Regions from separate parts of the Homo sapiens genome. Here all the other regions are linked to region 1. The links are contacts of gene promoters, found by promoter capture Hi-C in blood cells and fetal thymus (Javierre and others, 2016). All regions are on one chromosome and are shown on one strand. The core of a region is centred on a gene start or on the middle of the fragment in contact, and the rest is flanking DNA. Distances in the headings are between cores, read along the strand shown. Region 1 holds the start of MTCL1 (microtubule crosslinking factor 1). Region 2 has its middle 150 kb from the start of NDUFV2. Region 3 has its middle 170 kb from the start of NDUFV2. Region 4 has its middle 190 kb from the start of NDUFV2.

What was found. The method cuts DNA at HindIII sites, captures the fragments that hold promoters and counts their contacts. A CHiCAGO score of 5 or more calls a contact.
Region 2: a fragment that was not itself captured here is called in contact with the fragment with the promoter of MTCL1 in region 1 in 4 of 17 cell types (total B cells, naive B cells, megakaryocytes and 1 more); the score reaches 8.8 in total B cells.
Region 3: a contact is called between a fragment that was not itself captured here and the fragment with the promoter of MTCL1 in region 1, in 1 of 17 cell types (total B cells). The highest score is 6.7, in total B cells.
Region 4: a fragment that was not itself captured here is called in contact with the fragment with the promoter of MTCL1 in region 1 in 2 of 17 cell types (total B cells and naive B cells); the score reaches 6.8 in total B cells.

What each region holds. Positions count from the first base shown.
Region 1 is chr18:8,703,900-8,707,095 of GRCh38, reverse strand. MTCL1 (microtubule crosslinking factor 1) reads right to left here and starts at 1,540. Exons shown (of 15, transcript NM_001395333.1): 1 at 383-1,540. The coding sequence starts at 1,435. GACAT2 (gastric cancer associated transcript 2) reads left to right here. Exons shown (of 2, transcript NR_120598.1): 1 at 1-26. RefSeq lists silencers at 1,316-1,375, 1,756-2,195. The HindIII fragment of the contact is 5,801 bases long and covers 1-3,196 here.
Region 2 is chr18:8,949,598-8,952,793 of GRCh38, reverse strand. No RefSeq gene overlaps it. Among named protein-coding and RNA genes, the nearest start is that of NDUFV2, 150 kb to the left of the region's middle. The HindIII fragment of the contact is 1,937 bases long and covers 633-2,569 here.
Region 3 is chr18:8,930,358-8,933,553 of GRCh38, reverse strand. No RefSeq gene overlaps it. Among named protein-coding and RNA genes, the nearest start is that of NDUFV2, 170 kb to the left of the region's middle. The HindIII fragment of the contact is 1,502 bases long and covers 859-2,360 here.
Region 4 is chr18:8,906,620-8,909,815 of GRCh38, reverse strand. No RefSeq gene overlaps it. Among named protein-coding and RNA genes, the nearest start is that of NDUFV2, 190 kb to the left of the region's middle. The HindIII fragment of the contact is 3,839 bases long and covers 1-3,196 here.

The DNA.
Region 1 (3,196 bases), core at 291-2,790:
TGGCGAAGGATCACCTGTTCCTACAGGTGAGGCTGGCACGTTCTGAGCGGGGATGGGGGCGTCCGCTGATGTCCCCAAAACGATTACAGCCTCCTCTGCCCCAACAGGTCAACAAAAGTAAAAGTATCAGCGAAGAGACGCAAGAGTTCTAGACGCGAGAAAAGAGAAGTGGGTTGCGAACTGGCGGGGTCCCACAGGTCTTGCTTCTCCTTCCAGAAGTTTGGGCTTAAGTTGCCAATGCCTGACAATGCGGGGGTAGGACCGTGGAGAGCAGGAGGGAGAAGGCGCTGGACAGGCCCGGGAAGGAGGGGTTGGCGGGTCCCCGCCGCAGCCAGGCCCTCCGGGGGCGCCCCGGGACACCTGCGGCCGAGGCGCGGCTCACCTTGAGATAGTCGTTCTCCGAGCGCAGCTCCTCCATCTCCCGCAGCAGCTCTTCTTCCTCCGCCGCTGGCACGAGCCGAGACTGCTCGCCCAGGCTGGGCTCCTTGGGGGTCCCGGGGACTGGTCGCTCCGGTGGCGAGCGCCCCCGGACATCCTCCGCCACGCCGGGCCCCGCGAAACCCCCCGAAACCCCGCTCGGGATGCTCCGGCCCCCGGGACAGGCGCCCGCGGCGAGGGGCGCGGCGAGGAGCGCTGGGGGCTCGGGGCTGCCCGGCGGCGCTCCTCGGGCTGCGGGGCTCGGCGTCGGCGCTCCTCGTGGGGGTTCACGGTCGCTGGAGCCCGTGCCGGATTCGGCGTCGCTGCTGGCGGCAGGGAGCAGGCGCTGCTCGTCGGACAGGGGTTCGGAGGGGCAGTCAGAGAGGTCGGAGCTGCTGTCCGTGTGGCTGATGCGCGAGCAGCGGGCCGGGGACCCGGCCACCGAGGTCACCGCGAGGGTCACGGCAGGGATCCGGGCGGCCGGGGTCGGGGGGCCGACGGTGCGGGCGGGTGGCGCCCGGGAGCCGCGCTTGGCTTTGCGGCCCTTGGCAGCGGCAGACGGCGGCTCGGCTCCGGGAGGCTTCCCAGCCCGGGACAGCGGCTCCGCGGGCGCCACGCGCGCCGCCCTCCTGCTTCCCAGGGCAGCCTTGGCACCGCCCGCCGCTCTGGCCCCGGCGCCCGGCGGGGGCTTGTCCTTCGCGCCCGGGACGCCGCCACTGCGCCGAGAGAGGCGGCCGGGCGCGGCCAGGGACCCCGGCGAGGGCGGCGCTTTGCCCGCGAGGTTGGGCGAGCGCGGGGCGGCGGGAGCCGGGGCTCGGCCCGAGGAGGGGACGGCCGGGCCGGGCGCGGCGGGCCGGGCGTGCAGGTCCTTGAGGAAGGGTCTGGCGGGCGAGGGCGCACGGTGCAGCCGCCGCCTTTCGGCCACCGGGTGGAGGTGGTGGTGGCGGTGGTGCTGGCCGGGCGGCTGCAGCTTCGCGTCCGGGGCACCTCCGCCCGCGGGGCCGTTCAGTGTCTCCATGGCCGGGTCCGCCGGCAGCAGCTCAGGCAGCAGATGCTCCGGACGACGACGGCGGCGGCGGCGGCGGCGGCGGCGTGCAGCCTCCCCGCGCGCTCTCTCATCACTGTCCCAGCCCCGCCCGGGCTGCGCCCCGCGCTCCCGCCGTCCCCGCCCCCCGCACCCCGGCCCCGAGGATTCCCGCGGGGCTCGCCGCCGCCGCGCTCGCCCCTCGCTGAGGTCACCGCGGATCGAGTTCTCCCGGCTCAGCAGCGCGGCGGCTCCCGGCCGCTCGCATCCCCGGACCTCGCGCTCCGGGCTCGCGGTCACCGGTGCCGCGGCGGCGCTGGCGGCGCGCGCCCGGCTCCCGCGTCCCGCTCCCCGCCCACCGCCGGCCCGCTGCTGCCCGTGCCCGCCCCCGCCGCTCCCGGCTGAGAGAAGCCGCACGCGCGCGCCCCACCTCCCCGCCGCCCAGCGCCCTCGCCCAGGCCCGTGCGCATGCCCCGCCTCCAGCCAGCCGGCGCCGTGCAGGGGAGGGGCGAGGGAAGGGGCGGGGGCTTGCGCTCCCCGGGGGGCGGGCGCCCGGCAGGGGCGGGACCTGCGCGCCCTTGGGAGCAGGCGCAGGCTGGATCCATGGGGCCTCGCTGCCCGGGGACCCTCCTTGCTTTTTGAGGCCCTAGAGACGCTGCCAGGAGCTAGGGAGGAAGGGAAGAGGCGGAGGTGAAGTGGTGGCAAGGGGCGGCGCCGGCCACTTGGGGAAGGCGTGTGCCGCGGCTGACAACACCCCTCTCATGCCTCTCCATCCACCGCCCGCCTCCCCGAGGCCAGTCACCTCCCTCGCTGTCCTCTCCAAGCTGTGCCCCTGGTCCCCGAGCTCCTTTAAGGATCGCTGGTACCCGACGCAGCTCTCGCGTCTAAACGGCACGGCGGGCGCTCCACAGTTGGCACCCCCGTGGCCTCGGGAGCTCAGGAGGAGCTGCTGCCCAAACAGGAGGAGCCCTCGCCAAACCTGGGGGTCAGAAAGGGAACTCACATTTATAGTTCCGGCTGCGAGCCAGGCCTGCTGGCCACTTACTGAGCAGTGTTTTATTTAAGCCTCACCACAGTCCCAGATTGGAATTGCTGTCTTCGGTGAAGACTAGGGCACCGGCGCTGGGAGGTGAAGTCACTTGCCTGCGATGCCTCACCCAGTCCCTAGCTGAGCGGGTTTAAACCCAGGTCTTCAGGATTCCGAGTCCTGCAGGCTTTCCGCTCAGAGCCCGGAGCCCGGCCACCGGTTCTACCACTTGAGTCTCCCATGCGCAAGGCACTAGACCTTTCTGAGCCCCAGTTCCCTCGCCTGTATCATTAAAACGTACTGCCACCTGAGCATGTGTGAAGATTTAGCAAATACCAGAACACACCGTGCAAACTGTAAAGTACAGTTCACATACCATTGGGTGCAGTTTATGTCCCAGGCGTTGGATGTTGGCCAGTGCCCATAGGAATAGGGGCCAGCCTGTCCTCCAGCCCTGGCGTTGCAGGAGGCAGAGGGTCAGGTAATAATTACAAGGAGGAGGGCGGGAGCATAACCCTGCCTGGTGAGGCTCGCATTTTCCTGGAAGGACGGGTTGGTCTCTCAGCTGAGGGCCCAGGACACAGTAGAGCCTGCAGAGAGCAGGGCCCCTGGGCGGGGAGGCAGGTAGGTTAGGGATTAGAGGGGAGACTGGAGGGTGTGTGGCACCAAATATCCTACCAAGGCCGTTGGGCATTATCCTAGAGGCGGTAGCCACGGGGTATTCTGAG
Region 2 (3,196 bases), core at 352-2,851, 250 kb before region 1:
TGTAATACAGCAAAATGCCCCAGAAATTTCAATATTTTAGTATACAAACTACATCTATCCAACAACTTTTCACTCTAGGAAGCAATACAAAAATTCATTTTGAGAGCCTGTGCCTCAGTGTTTTGTTGAAACTAACGCACTTCACCTTCACATACCACAAACTATATGATGATATGGTTTATTTCTTTCCCAGCAAATTCTGGTCAAAAGGGCAGCGTATCAAGTTACCTTAGTCTGGAGCATCCATTTTAGAATGTGATCTCCCTGGGTCACTTAGTGCTGTAATCTGTTCTTTAACAGAAAAGTATCTGCCCAGTTTACCATTAATTAGCATATTTTAAGAGTTTTATGAGATGAACATTTCAGGCGTGAAATATCACTTCGCCTCTGAGCAGCTGGGTCGGAAGTGTGTGCCACCTCTCATTTCTGCCCAGTGACTGGGTGTGTTCATGGTTTCAGGCTGATGGTCCCGTCCACTCCAGCACAATGCTTAGCCCAGGAAGAGTAGGCCATGGGGCTCAGTGCAGGGTCCAAAGTGCATAGTGAAGACCGACTGCTCATCACCATCCCCTAGGGTTCTGTCCCAAGTGTTGAAGTACTGTCATTAAAGATTCATCCTCAGGTTGAAAGCTTAAGCCCTGCGAAAAGCCAAGTGCCCCAGGGAACCCCTCATATTAAATCATGGACTGTGAACCCCTTGGTTTGAGTGCACTAACGAGCTCCTTCCCAAAGCACATCCTCTAAGAAGGAGCCCTGGAAAGAATGGAGCTGGGCCAAGGCAGGAGGGTTTTCCAGAGAAGAGTGGAGAAGGGCAGATGAGCAGGGCGGTGCAGGGGTGCAGCAGGATAGGACAGGGGCTTCCAGGTGGAGAGTTTGTGGTCCTGAAATGCAAGAGACTAAGGGAAAGGACCTTTGTTGAGCTCTTATTCCATGCCAGCGACTACACAAAATGGTTTCTATGTATTTTTATCTGCTTTGGTTTCCTCTGTCCCCTGGGAAGTTAAGTACATGTTTCCTTTGCAGGTGAAGACTGCACCAGTCAAGGTGGTTAAGTGACTTCCTGTATGGCAGATGCAACTGACAGCAGTAACTTAAGCACACCCTGAGAATGACCCTGTGGTCTAAGAAGAATGTGTGTCTGGGAGTGGCCAACCCAGAGACTCACTCCTTATCTATGAGGGACATCCGAACCCCTGGTCCATTCCTTGGAACACAGGTGTACAGGGGATTGAAGCCTTTGTTTTGGTTTAAACAGAGGTTGATAGATGGAGGGTGGGAAGTGAAAATTGCCATATAAACTGCATGCTTTTTCAAACAATAGCAGTTCTCATGTCTAGCCCCCCGTTCCTGGACTGCCCCGTATGTGGGTCCTCAATCAACAGTCTGGTCTACTAGCTCTGGATCTCTTCTTCAGCCTCTCGGACAGGGCACCATCCCTATTGGAATCAACAGGGGTCCAGCACAACACTTCCCCAGAATCATACAGCTGGGGTGTAATGGAGCCATGATCTGAACCCAAGTCTACTTCTAAAACACTTACTGTCCCACCAACTAAATTGGCCTGGGCCTCTAAGTCAACTCTAATAGAGTTGGGATGAGTTGCTTCTCACTAGACCTATTGCTTCTTTCTAGAACTTCTGTCCCTGAAGGGGCAGAAGGGAAGCATTACCAGGCACCTGGAATTGTGTTGGCCACTATCTTAGTCTGTTCCTGCTGCTATAACAAAATGCCTGAGGCTGGGTCATTTATAAAGAACAGAAACTTACATCTCACAGTTCTGGAGGCTGGAAGTCCAATGTTAAGGCACCAGCTGGTTCAGTATCTGGTGAGGGCTGTTCTCTGCTTCAGGTGGTAAACCTACCACCACGTTGAGGATTAGGTTCCAACACCTGCATTTTGGAGGGAGGGACACAGTCATTCACACCATAGCACCACCTTCACATATCCCATACAATCCTCACATCAACCCAGCAAAGCAAGGACTATTATCCTTATGTTTACTTATTGTATCCATTTTTTTATGCTGCATAACAAATTACCGTAAACTCAATGGCTTAAAACAACACACATTTATTATGTTTCTGTGGGGCAGGTGTCTGGGCACAGCCTAGCTGGGTCCTCAGCAAAACTGCAATCAGGGTCCTGACCAGGGCTGCGTTCTCATCTCGAGACTCCCATGGGTAAGGGTCTCCATCCAAACTCACCAAGGCTGTGGAAAGATGTAGACCTCAGGGTAGCTGGCTTCTTCAAATCTTTCAAACAGACCAAGTCTTATATAACTACATAATCCTGAGAGTCACACTGCATCACGTTGGTCATATTCTGTTGGTTAGGAGCAAGTCACAGGGGTCATGGGGCCACCTTAAAGTCTATGCAATACACATACGCACATGTGCAGAAACTTAACCTCAGCTAGATGCTCATTTCTTTCAGTGCAGTTAGATGTCATGACGGGATGGAGATGGCGTGATGCTGAGGAAACTTTGACTGTGGTGTTCCTTATGTGCATGTCCTTTTCCAAGGCCTGGGGAGGGGCCCGTGGGTGGACCTAAGTTTTGTCCCTGAAGCTTGTGCATATATGCAAAATAACAAACATAAAAACTGCTAGGGCCCCTCCCAGGGCTTACAGGTGACAGGCCTTACAGCTTAGGTTTCTTGGTAAATCTGCCCCCTGTGGACGTGTCATCACTATTATTCGAATTTCTCTGGGGTATCATTTAGTCTATTACAGGATCTGGAAAATAGCAATCATTCAAAAGACTGCACATCCCTAAGTCAGCAGCGGCACTCTCTCAGTGCGACCTCTTCTCCCGCAGTTTGCTTCCCGCACCTCCCCCCTCCTCTGCCACGCTGGCTCTTGGTGCCACCTGGTTGGGAGTGGTGCCGCGGCCTCTGTTTCTCCCACTCCCTCAGCCCTCACCTTTCTGTTTTCTTCTCAAACCAGCTAGGTGTTCACAGAACCAACTCCCAAGCTCATTTTTTCTTAGTGTTGTACCCATCTGGCAAAAACCCCATCCCAGATGAGACAAGAAGTATCATATATGTGTGTCTGTGTGTCCGTGTGTGGGGGTCTGTGTCTGTGTTTCTGTGTGTATGTGTGTTTGTGTGTCTGTGTTTCTGTGTGTCTGTGTCTGTGTGTGTGTGTGTGTGTGTGTGTGTGCATACTTTCTCTCTGCTCCAGGAGAGCCACACCCCA
Region 3 (3,196 bases), core at 360-2,859, 230 kb before region 1:
ACACACAAACAAAGCAAGGAAAGAATGAAGCAACAAAAGCAGAGATTTATTGAAAATGAAAAATACACTCCACAGGGTGGGAGCGGGCCTGAGCATAGGAGCTCAAGAGCCTGGTTACGGAATTTTCTTGGGTTTAAATACCTTCTAGAGGTTCCTTTTGGTTACTTGGTGTATGCCCTATGTAAATGGAGAGGATATTTCCTGTCATAGCTGAAGTGTTTCCATTTGATTTAGTTCTAGGAAGTCAGCATGAATCAGCCTTGTGTTCCTTGCCTCCAGACCCTATTCTCCTGCCTCACAATGATTGCATCCCCAACCAATCTGCAGCACCCATTCCCTACTCCAATGCTACCAAACTATCCTTGAAAAACTCTAGCTTCTGAATCTGTGGGGAGACTGACTTGAGTTCTCCCATGTGGCTGGCCTCAAGTTAAACTCTTTCTTTGCTGCAATACCATGGACTCAGTGAACTGGCTTTGTCTGTGCAGTAGCAGGAAGAACCTGTTGGGTGACTACATCTTTTTTGTTTGTACTGGTCTTCCACACCAAAGAGAAGTCCCAGTATCCTGGTCTGGTCCATGTCCTGCAAATTCTGATGCCTTGGGTGTTTTAAGGATTTCAAAGGCTTATTTCTTAGCTCAAGAGACTGATGAGATCTATAACCTATTTGTAGTGTTTCTGTCTTTGGTTTCCTTACTTTGTAACAAAGAAATTTCTTTTCTCCAACCTTAGCTACTCAAAGTGTGTCCATCAACTGGTAGTATTGGCTGGCCTGACCTGGGAGCTTGTTACAAACACCAAGACTCAAACTTCATCCTAGACATGAAGATCCCAGGTGATCATATGCACATTGAAGCTTCAGAAAGTCTACTCTGAACAACCAGATGAGGCCAGGGATCGTGGCTCACGCCTGTAATTACAGCACTTTGGGAGGCCAGGGCGGGCAGACCACCCAAGGTCAGGAGTTTGAGACCATCCTGGCCAGCATGGTGAAACCCCATTGCCACAAAAAAACACAAAAGTTATCTGGGCATGGTGGCAGATGCCTGTAATCCCAGCTACTTGGGAGGCTGAGCAGGAGAATCGCTTTAATATGGGAGCTGGAGGTTGCAGTGAGCCAAGATCGTGCCACTGCACTCCAGCCTGGGCAAAAGAATGAGACTCTACTAAGAAAATAAAAATAAAAATAATACTCTGATGTTGAAACTTTTCTTTGAGTTAGTTCTTCATTCTCAAGTGACTTTAAACTGACCTTGATGGAGCAAACATTTAATTCTGACAAGCCTCAGTGTTTTGCCCTGATGTAGTTCGCAGAACACCATTCTGTATGATTCCGGTTCCATGGGATCTATTTTACAGTTCTGTAAATCACTGTAAATCACCCACCCACTCCGCAGTGTAGGATGCAAATCATGTCCCGTCTGCTGGAGGTTCAATTAACTTCCCTCCCACTGTGGGAAAATCAGTTTGCCTCAATTGGCATATCAATTTTCATACAACTGATCCATAAATTTGCTCTTTGGAGTTTCTTTTAAACGGGCTATAGTATTTGTCTGCTTCCCTCATGAGTAAAAGAAAATCTTTATCACGGGTTCATTTTTATATCTGTATGAGAGTCATGAATTTGCCTTTTTTGAAAATTACCATTTAACAGTGATGACTACCTTTCTTCTCTTAGGTTATAGAGCGGTGCCTCTACCTCAACACCACTGATGTTTTGAGACAGATAATTCTTTATGGTGAGGGCTATCCTCTGCATTGCAGGATGTTAGCAGCTTCCCTGGCCTCTACCCACTAGATGCTCCTAGCACTGCCTCCCACCAAATTATTCAGATATTGTTAAATATCCCCTCAAGGGCAAAATTACCCACCCACTCCCCAGGTTAGAACCACTGGTTTATAGTTAATAAACAAGACAACACGTGACACCACTATTGAACTAACAGACAAAATGCAGTTACAGAAATAGCACATTATTTTTTGATATTGAAGGAAATAAAAATATTGTACCCTAAAATACATTTGTTTGACGTATGTTGAGATGGCTGCCAGAGAGCCAGCCTGCAGAAGTAGCCCTGCAAAGCTGTCTTTTGTGGGGAAAATTTGCATCTACAGAGAATCTGCATAGAGGAAGCCAGGCTCTCCCTTGTCAGAATTCAGGAAAGACAAACTTAGAATTTGTCACTTTTAAAGGTCTAAAGAAACATTTAGCATCTATTCTTTCTGAGGGTTTCTACCTATGAGGTTTTATTTACATAACAAGACTCTCTTTGCTAGCCAACTCTCATTCCCCTCCCTCCCATAACTGGATTCATCACCGTAGCCTTATTTTGACCATGCTCTGAGCTCACATAGAAGCTTCTGCACCCCATTGGTGGGTTGGGTAATCACTCAGTGATGCTCCCCATATACACGTTGTTACATTTTGTATGCCTTTCCTCCAATTCATCTGACTTTTGTAAGTTGATTTTTCAGTGAATCTTCAGAAGTTTTCCTTCTGCCCCTATAATATTTTCCTAAAAATAGAGGAATGAGCAAATCTTCTGGGAATATCATGTTTCAGACATTATGAAAGGTCATGAGCAGGGGTAAAAACAAATAATACTGAAATCCAAAACACAAGCCAAGTGATGCCACCTTTTGGCAGAAGTCCTTGGCATAAGGGCAGTTTGGGAGATTGTAGCACCCTCAGGTCCTGAGGAACTGGCTGGGGGAGGCCATTGGTTGCCACATGAAGGTAAGTGTTTGCTTTGGGCTTAAATGGAATGAAAGAGGCTGTATGCCTGAGGTTGGTCCTGTGGGTGATATACCTGAGCTTCCCTGTCTCCAGCCGTTCCTACCCCAGGAGACCCCCCAGGACAATAGGTTGATTTAACGTACATTCATTCATTCATTCACTCATTTGCTCACTCATTCATCAACTGACACTTCACCAGGGACCAGGAGCTGTGTGTCTGAGTGAGGGGAAAAGTGAAATCACCTTTGCGAATATTATGACAGTGACAGATGTCTAGCATGGCTGACTCCATCTTGCTGCTGGCCTCACAGTCTATCCTTGCTCATTCCTGGGTGTGGGTCAGCTAACCATGGGAGAAATTTAGTTTATATTTTAACTTTGAAGTGGGGATGATAATAGCCTCTCTATAAAACTAACTCCCTCCTTGTTCAGGGACTGAAACCATCTTTGTAAAACCAG
Region 4 (3,196 bases), core at 511-3,010, 200 kb before region 1:
CGGCCAGAATTAGAATACTGATCCAGATTTTTGTGTTACACATCTCCCTTATTTCTTTTCAGCAACAGCTGGAGATCACTGGTTGGTTCACAGAAACAAAGTGGGTCAGCCTAAATTGCAGGAAAAAAATAAAAAACAATGGACAAGACCAGAATGTAACAACAGGTGTACCATAGTCTTTTTAAACAAATTTTCTCTCTCCAACCCCCATTTTTATTAAAAACAAATCATGGTAGACTGATTTGTTTGCAAGATAAGTTTTAACCTGACTACATTTGGCCTGATTATTTGTATAAAGTGCATCAAGAATAATTATTCACCATACAGGCCTTTTTAAAATTGGCTTTGATGGAACTTTGTTCTACAAGGAATCTCAGATTAGACCTCTCAAAGCCTTGAGCCCAGCCATGGGTTTGTACTTGCAAATAACTGCCTGAGGGGTAAATTCCTCACCTCTTGAGGTCCCAAGATAACTTGCAGCTCCTGGGCCTGTCAGAAAGTGACATTCTTTATTCTTCATCTACCGCAGGTCAGGAACCTTGGACAGAGACTGTGTAGACAAGGAATGAGGCTAGCTTTCCCTAGGGGCTTTCATTGGCTCTATAAGTCAACTTTGATTCCTTAAAGCAGTCTGTTTATATTTAAAAGAATACCATTCCAGCCAAGGCCCTGGTAAAATAACCAGTTTCTCCAATTGTGTCCTGTTACAAAGAAAACAGATTATTATTGCACTTACGTAAATAACTATATTGCCATAAGTTAAGAATACTCATGAATAGTTTTCAAATTCTGGAGAAATCAGGTAGAAGGAGATATGCTCCAAATTTTGCTCATAGGCATATACTCCACTCAATTGCCAAAAGCTGTAAATAGCAACCCCCAAAAAGTTTTCTTGACTCTGAAAAACAAAACAGAAAGGATCAACAGTATTTCAAGCAGGAAGTCATGAAAAAACTATTTCAATCTTTTACTAGTTCAGTCTATGCAATTAATTCCTCTTCTGTTTGACATTCATGAACACAGTAGTTTTCCAAGAGAGTCTTGGAAGTTATTTCTTCTCTATTTTCATGGCACACTTTCCAAAGTCATCAGAGATCTACATTCAAAGGCACTTGTCAGAGTCCTATAACTGATTATACACCACCATTTTTTTTTTTTTTTTTTGAGACAGAGTCTTGCTCTCTCACCCCGGCTGGAGTGCAGTGGCATGATCTTGACTCACTGCAAGCTCCACCTCCTGAGTCCATGCCATGCTCCTGCCTCAGCCTCCCAAGTAGCTGGACTACAGGCACCCACCACCATGCCTGGCTAATTTTTTTGTATTTTTAGTAGAGACAGGGTTTCACCATGTTAGCCAGGAAGGTCTCAATCTCCTGACCTTGTGATCAGCCCACCTCAGCCTTCCAAAGTGCTGGGATTATAAGTGTGAGCCACCATGCCCGGCCTACACCTCCTTTTAAAGAGGATCAAAACAAGACAAATATTGTCTGTGGATGACAAAAAGACTTAGGACAGCCATACTCAAAGACACAATTGACAAGGAAATTTGGTTACCTCTGTGGCACACAATAATCAACAAAACAATCATAATTATTCCTGACAATATATACTAAGTCATATCAGAATTATAGGAGCTTCCCATAATTTTGGAACACATACCAATAACACATCTATACAAATACAGCCCAAAGAAAGCCAAACACCATTTCATACCCAACAATGCTTCCTGTATGATTTTAATATACCAAATAAGTCAAATATATGTCATCTTTGGACTTTAGGCAACCCAATATCTAAAAGATCAATTAGATCAGAAAAAGACATAATTTATAATTTGATTTTGGGAAGTTTGTCAAATATCAAAGGTTCAAAACGCTTGATATTATAAAATAGAATCCCAGGTCACTGTAAGTCATTTATTTTGCTAAAATGATAATTTAAAGATTTTAAAAAGGCAAAAACATTTACTCATTGATAGAAGGAAGACTGAGCTTTCCAAACAATCTGTCTTTTTGCTTTCCACTCTTTTTCATGTAGTTTATTCAAAGAGGAAACAAAAATCTTTCATTATTTTCCTCATATTACAAAGAATCTTATTCAACAGAGAAAGCCAAAATTCACCTTTGCATTAGTGTACTATTGATGTCAAACCTAGTTCTTAATAAAATCTTATAGAAAAATCTATCTAATTTTTTTAAATTACTTTAAAAATGTATTTCAAAAGTTTTTGGGAACTGGTGGTGTTTGGTTGCATGGAAAAATTTTTTAGTGGTGATTTCTGAGATTCTGGTGCACTTGTCACCTGAGAAGTGTACACTGTACCCAATGTGTGTAGCCTTTTATCCCTCCCCCACTCCCACCCTTACCCTTGAGTCCCCAAAGTCCATTATATCATTCTTATGCCTTTGTGTCCTCATAGCTTAGCTCTCACTTATAAGTAAGAACATATGATGTTTGGTTTTCTATTCCTGAGTTCACTTAGAATAATCATCTCCAACTCTATCCAGGTTACTGAAAATAGCATTATTTCACTTCTTTTTATGGCTGAGTAGTATTCCATTCCATATATATTATATATATGGAATATATATATATATATACACCATATGTATGGAATATATAGATACACCATATATATAAAATAATATATATACCATTATATGTATAATGGTGTGTGTGTGTGTGTGTATATATATATACACACACCATATATATATAATGTGGTATATGGCTGATTAGTATTCATATATATACCACTCGTTTCTTTATCCTCTTGTTGGTTGATGGACGTTTAGGCTGGTTCCATACTTTTGCAATTGTGAATTGTGCTGCTATAAACATGCATGTACAAGTGTCTTTTTCATATAATGACTTCTTTTACTCTCAGTAGATACCCAGTTGTGGGGTTGCTGGGTCAAATGGTAGTTCTACTTTTAGTTCTTTAAGGAATTTCCATACTGTTTTCCATAGTGGTTGTACTAGATTACATTCCCACCAGCAGTGTATAAGTGTTCCCTTTTCACCACATCCATGCTAACATCTGTTATTTTTTTTATTTTTAAATTATGGCCATTCTTGCCAGGGTAAGGTGGTATCTCACTGTTGTTTTGATTTACATTTTCCTGATAATTAGTGATATTGAGCATTTTTTCTTTTTCTTTTTTTTTTAGACAGAGTCTCATTCTTTCTCCCAGGC